Regions from separate parts of the Homo sapiens genome. Here region 1 is linked to region 2. Evidence: promoter capture Hi-C in human tissues and cell types (Jung and others, 2019). All regions are on one chromosome and are shown on one strand. The core of a region is centred on a gene start or on the middle of the fragment in contact, and the rest is flanking DNA. Distances in the headings are between cores, read along the strand shown.

Region 1 (2,988 bases), core at 193-2,692, 94 kb after region 2:
CGGAAATCTCTTTGCAGGATTCCGTTTGCGAGCCTGGGTTATTCCTCATTCCGGCAGCAGAGGGTGGCCTGGCTCCTTGCTCGGTGAACGTCTCTGGATGCTCTTAGCTGATGACAGGCAGGTCTTTCTGCCTCCTGCTTTCCACCGCACCAGGCTCGCTTGGGCTCGCCTTTCTCCAGTCCCTGCTTCCTCTGCTCTCCCACAACCCGGCGCAGCACCGTACATGCTCACTCAGCTCCCAGCTTCCAGCCTCCCCCCTGCACACCGGGCCGGTGTGGGCAGAAGGAAGAGGGGCATATTCCCAGACACCGCCATTGCACTTTTGTGCCTTTTCCCCCATATTCAAGAGTTGCCTCCCTCAGGAAGCCCTCCTGGACTGCCTGACCCACAGGCACCTTTACAGCATGAACGGAAAGGCCATAGCCTAGACGGGGCACTGGGCGTGATTTGTCTCTCGGGCGCCAGCGTCACTTGCAGGCCTCGTGATAAGGAATGGACACCGTGGGTTCTTCTGCCCAGCCTGGCCTGTCCTCCTGGGGTCAGCCCCTCAGTACACCCCAAGCCTGCAGCTCTCTGGGGACTGCGGGTGCTAACCCATCCCTATCCCTGGTTAAGGACTCAGGGTGGGAGCCGGAAATAGGTTTTGGACACCACAGTCTGGGCACTGTTTTTCTTTCTTTTTTTTTTTGAGACGGAGTCTCGCTCTGTGGCCCAGGCTGGAGTGCAATGACACGATCTCGGCTCACTGCAACCTCCGCTTCCCGGGTTCAAGCTTCTCCTGCCTCAGCCTCCCAAGTAGCTGGGACTACAGGCGTGAGCCACCACACCTGGCTAGTTTTTGTATTTTTAGTAGAGATGGGGTTTGGCCATGTTGGCCAGGCTTGTCTTGAATTCCTGACCTCAAGTGATCCGCCTCCCAAAATGCTGGGATTACAGGTGTAAGCCACCGGGCCCGGCCCTGGGCATTGTTTGTAGAACTTTCCAGTTGGCTTGGGGTTTTTGAGCTTGGGATCAGAGAGCACCTGAATAAGACTCTTCCCATTGGTGGAAACTTAAAAAAGTGGGATGCAGGGGCTGACACAGAGACTATTAAGAGAAAGGACAGGAACACAAGGGCTGCTGGAATGTCAGCCCAGAGTTTCCAGATGCCACAATGTAAGAGTTCACCAGTGGCCGGGCACGGTGGCTCACGCCTATAATCCCAGCACTTTGGGAGGTTGAGGCGGGCAGATCACCTGAGACTGGGAGTTCGAGACCAGCGTGACCAACATGGAGAAACCCCATCTCTACTAAAAATACAAAATTAACCGGACATGGTGACGGATGCCTGTAATTCCAGCTACTCGGGAGGCTGAGGCAGGAAAATTGCTTGAAAACCCGGGAGGCAGAGGTTGCGGTGAGCCGAGATCACGCCATTGCACTGCAGCCTGGGCAACAAGAGTGAAACTCCGTCTCAAAACAAACAGACAAAAAAAAGAGTTCATCAGAGACAGTGACATAAACAAGAGCTGAGAGATGGAGAGAGATTTGTAATGACACCTGGATCCAGCTGTGCCTGAAGCCATTCAACATGACATAGAACTTCCTTTTTGTTTCTTGAGCCGGTTTTTGTTATTTTGTTGGACCATCTGGATGTCCCCTCCACCCTTTTTTTTTGAAACGGAGTCTTGCTGTCGCCCAGGCTGCAGGCTGGAGTGTAGTGGTATGATCTTGGCTCACTGCAAGCTCCGCCTCCCAGGTTCACGCCATTCTCCTGCCTCAGCCTACCGAGTAGCTGGGACTACAGGTGCCCGCCACCACGCCTGGCTAATTTTTTGTATTTTTAGTAGAGATGGGGTTTCACCGTTAGCCAGGATGGTCTCGATCTCCTGACCTCGTGATCCGCCCGCCTTGGCCTCCCAAAGTGCTGGGATTACAGGCATGAGCCACTGCACCTGGCCCACCCTTTTTTTTTGACAGGTTCTGGCTCTGTTGCCCAGGCTGGAGTGCAGTGGTGCAATCACAGTTCACTGCCACCTCAAGCGATCCTCCCACCTGAACCTCCTAAGTAGCTGGGACTACAAGTGTGTGTCACCAGGTACAACCAATTTAATTTTGATTTTTTGAGACAGTCTCGCTCTGTCGCCCAGGCTAGAGTGCAGTGGTGCAATCTCAGCTCACTGCAATCCCTGCCTCCTGGGTTCAAGCTATTCTCCTGCCTCAGCCTCCCAAATAGCTGGGATTACAGGCTTGCGCCACCATGCCCGGCTAATTTTTGTATTTTTAGTAGAGATGGGATTTCGCCATGTTGGCCAGGCCGGTCTCGAACTCCTGACCTCAAGTGATCCACCCGCCACAGCCTCCCAAAGTGCTGGGATGACAGGCGTTAGCCACCGCGCCCGGCCAATGTATATTTTAAAAGTTGTTTTCCAGCATGAATTTAGAGGCCAGCTGGGTAGAGTGGTGGACAGGGCTCCCTCAGCACCTTCTGTCAACTCCTGGCCACTCTCTTTCCCTTAAAAATTATAGACATGGGGTCTCACTATGTTGCCCAGGCTGGACTGGAACTCCTGGCCTCAGGCGATCCTCCCGCCTCAGCCACCTGAAGTGCTGGGATTACAGATATGAGTCACTGTGCTGAGCCTTCTCCTCCCTAAGGCACTTGTGTGCCAAAGGGCTCTCTCCTGGGGGCCACCCCCCGTCAAGTGGCCAGGAAGGCACTCCTTCCACCCCAACCCTGTAGGGGAGCAGGGCAGTCCAGCTGTGTCCTCGCAGAGATGCAGCGGCCAAGTCCCTGGGCACAGCAGCAGATGCCTGCCAGTGGGCACTTTGGGATGAGCAGCGCCCCCACAGGTCCTGCCACACCCCTTCCCCCCGAGAGCTCTGTCCGTGGGTTCCGTGGGCATCCGGTTGTGGAGGAAGTCACAGATGCCGCACTAAGGAGTGTGGGGTTGACGCTGCCAGCAACGGAGCCGTGGAAGGTTTCAGAGGAGCAGTGACAGACTCAGA
Region 2 (3,123 bases), core at 460-2,959:
TTACAGGTGCCTGCCACCACGCCGGACTAATTTTTGCCGTTTTAGTGGAGACAGGGTTTCACCATCTTGGCCAGGTTGGTCTCAACCTTCTGACCTGAAGTGATCCACCTGCTTTGGCCTCCCAAAGTGCTAGGATTATAGGCATGAGCCACTGCACCCAGCCTACAATATTATTGATATGTGTATTGTGCTATAATGCAGACAGTAGGTGCTTAATCGATGCTTGATGATTGGAGGGATCATTCAAAAATAGTACACAGGTGCCTCCTAGGGCTGGGGCCCCCTCCCCGCCCTCCCCACCATCACTGCTTCTACCTTTCCGTGTGGCCTGAGGCCAGCCACTCCACTCTCCCAGGCCTCAGTTTCCCCATCTGTGCAGTGGGGGCCAAGTGGACTCAGTCCATGATTCTGTGACACCCTGCGGAAGGTGCGGCCGGCAGGGGCTGGATCAGGAGTTGGGTCCCTAGAAGAGGCCCTCAGCTGCACCCCGGCCCCAGGGCTCCCTCAGCTCCCAGACAGCAGGGAGTCCCCCGGATTGGGGATGGGACAGGGAGGGGGTGACCTGGCCCAGGTCCGTTCGGTGCCTCATGGCCTCATCGGCGGAGGGGGTGGGACTGAGCTCCGGGGCAGCCCGTGGAGGGAAGGGGCCACTGCTGAGGCTGGAGCAGGGAAGGGGAGGAGGCTGACTGCCTCTCTGGGCCTTAGTTTCTCCATCCTGTCAGGGCAGGGATGAAGTCACTTGCCATCCACACCCTCCTCATGACCCCAGCCTGCAGGGGGAAAGAGGGGGGAAGGGAAGCAGCCGCCAAGTGAGCCAGGGCGTCCTGCTGCCAGCAGAGCCTGAAGGCAGGTGGGTGAGCCCCGGCCCGGGCACCAGCTGGGGAAGAGGCTGGGTCCCACCTGGACCCTGTTTCCCTGGCTCCAGCATTTGGACTTCTGAGGCACCAAGGGTCTAGGGTCCTGGGTATCTCTAGGTACTGAGACAGCTGTGTGGTCTGCTGCATCCGTGCCCCTCTCTGAGCCTAGAGCCTGGGCTGGCCCAGGAAGCAGGAAGAAGTCTGCACCAGAAACTTAAAACAAGGGGAGGGGGGCCAGGTGCGGTGGCTCACGCCTGTAATCCCAGCACTTTGGGAGGCCAAGACAGGCGGATCACCTGAGGTCAGAAGTTTGGGACCAGCCTGACCAACATGGTAAAACCCCATCTGTACTAAAACACAAAAATTAGCCCGGTGTGGTGGTGCACACCTGTAATCCCAGCTACTTGGGAGGCTAAGGCAGGAGAATCGCTTGAACCCAGGAGGCGGAGGTTGCAGTGAGCCGAGATGGGGCCAATGCACTCCAGCCTGGGCGACATAGTGAGACTCAGTCTCAAAAACAACCAACCAACCAAAAAAAACAGGGGGAGGGGGCTTGACCTTCTGACCACCCCCACCGGACTCTAAGCCTGGTTTGAGGAGTGGGGGTCTAGGTGGTGAAAAGTGGGGGGCTACAAGGACCACCCTACCCCCTCCTCAATGGGCCCTGCCCAGAATCAAGGCTCTCCCCTCCCCGTGTGGGCTGCAGCCCGGACTGGCGGAGGGATCTCAAGGCAAGCCGCACCTCTGGGCCTCAGTTTCCCCCGGAGAAAGTGGGAGGATAGGCAGATGGACTTACCGGCTGCGCGGAGCCCAGGCAGCGCGTCCCGGCTCCCTGAGCGGCCCCAGGGCGAGCGGAAGCGGCGGGGCCCAAGGTGCTGGGCGGGGTGGGGAGCCTGGGACGGTCCCTCCCACCGCGGCCTCCGCAGGCGCGCCCAGGCCCGGGTCAGGAGGGGCGGCGGCCCCGGGCGCCCTCGCGCGGCGGGCGCGGATCTGCGGCAGGGGACTGCCCGGCGGACGCGAGCGCAGGGGTCCCGGAGCCGCAGGCTGGTGTCGGGCGCCCGGGTCCGGGTGACCTTGGCAGGCTCGGGCGGGGGCGCGGCGCGGGGACTGACCGCCCTCCTCTGCCCCGGGGCTGCTATTCCGGGCGCCGCGCTCAGGGCCCGGGAATGTGCGCGAACCGAGGTCACCCCGCCCTGGGTCTGGGAGTCCCGGGCGCTGCCCCTACCCCGCCGACGCCCGGATTGCGTCCCACCGGCGTCCCCATCCCCGGTCACAGCCCCCTCCCCTGGTCCTGCCCCTCACCCCTCTCGCGGGGGGTCGACCTGCTCGTGGATGGGGACCCTGGCGCGCCTGGGCTCCCATCCGGGGGTTCCCCGACCCAGGTCCCGGTCACCCCCAGCGCAGGGCCCCAGCGCACTGGGGAGAGGCTCGGCCCCGTGGGCCGCGCGCGGGGGGCGGAGAGACCCTCCCAGCTGGCGCATTCCCGGGCGCTGCTGTCACCAGGGGACGCGCCCCACCCCGCCTCCCGCCCTCCCTGCCGGGCCCCGGGGCTGCCAGCGGGGCTTCAGAGCCAGACCCGGGTCCAGGCGGTCCCTCTCCCTCACAGCCGCGGCCACACCCTCTCCGGCCTCAGTTTCCCCATCCCAGCAGTGGGCCCGGCAGGGATCTCCACCGCGAACCTTCCATCTGGAATCCGGCTCTGCGCGGACCGGCAACGCGAGGGGGCACCCCGGGACTCCCCCCACCCCACCCTTTCCCGCCGGGCGTCTGTGAGCCGCCCCGTGCCCACCCACGCAGGGATGAGACCAGGCCCTGGGTTCTGGGCTCCACCAGTTTCTGGTGTCGCCCCACGGCGCCCCCTGGCGGGCGGGCTGAGGGACTGGGGCACTAAAGGAGGGGGTGGAGGGACTGTCCTGCTCCCTGGGCTCCACCCAGGCTCGGTCTGAGCACCCCCTCCTCCAGGAAGCCCACCCTGCTGTCCCACAGCGCTGACCACAGGGAGAGAGGTTTGCTGGGGACATACAGGGTGTTGCTGGTCCAACTCAGTCTGCCCTCCAGCCTGTAGCATGTCAGCAGAGCCACCCATATGCCATTTATTGAGCACCTACTGTGTGCACAGCTGTGAACAACCCAGCCAGTCCCAGGCCAGCGGGTAAGGCAGCCCCCTGGAATGTATGACCCCCCACCTTCTGACCTGGACTATTGGAGAAAATAGCCCAGGCCCACCACTGATGGCCCCAGGTTGGGGGGTGGTGGTTGCGGGGAT

The links. The method cuts DNA at HindIII sites, captures the fragments that hold promoters and counts their contacts. A contact is called where the count stands out against the background at its distance.
Region 1: a contact is called between a fragment that was not itself captured here and the fragment with the promoter of ADAMTSL5 in region 2, in 2 of the 25 tissues and cell types used here (dorsolateral prefrontal cortex and mesendoderm cells).

Annotation. Positions count from the first base shown.
Region 1 is chr19:1,605,916-1,608,903 of GRCh38, forward strand. No RefSeq gene overlaps it. Among named protein-coding and RNA genes, the nearest start is that of UQCR11, 1.9 kb to the left of the region's middle. RefSeq lists enhancers at 1-47, 503-1,124, 2,607-2,656, 2,687-2,756. The HindIII fragment of the contact is 3,073 bases long and covers 1-2,979 here.
Region 2 is chr19:1,511,310-1,514,432 of GRCh38, forward strand. It overlaps ADAMTSL5 (ADAMTS like 5), which reads right to left and starts at 1,710. Exons shown (of 12, transcript NM_213604.3): 1 at 1,654-1,710. RefSeq lists silencers at 1,535-1,904, 2,744-2,823. The HindIII fragment of the contact is 17,964 bases long and covers 1-3,123 here.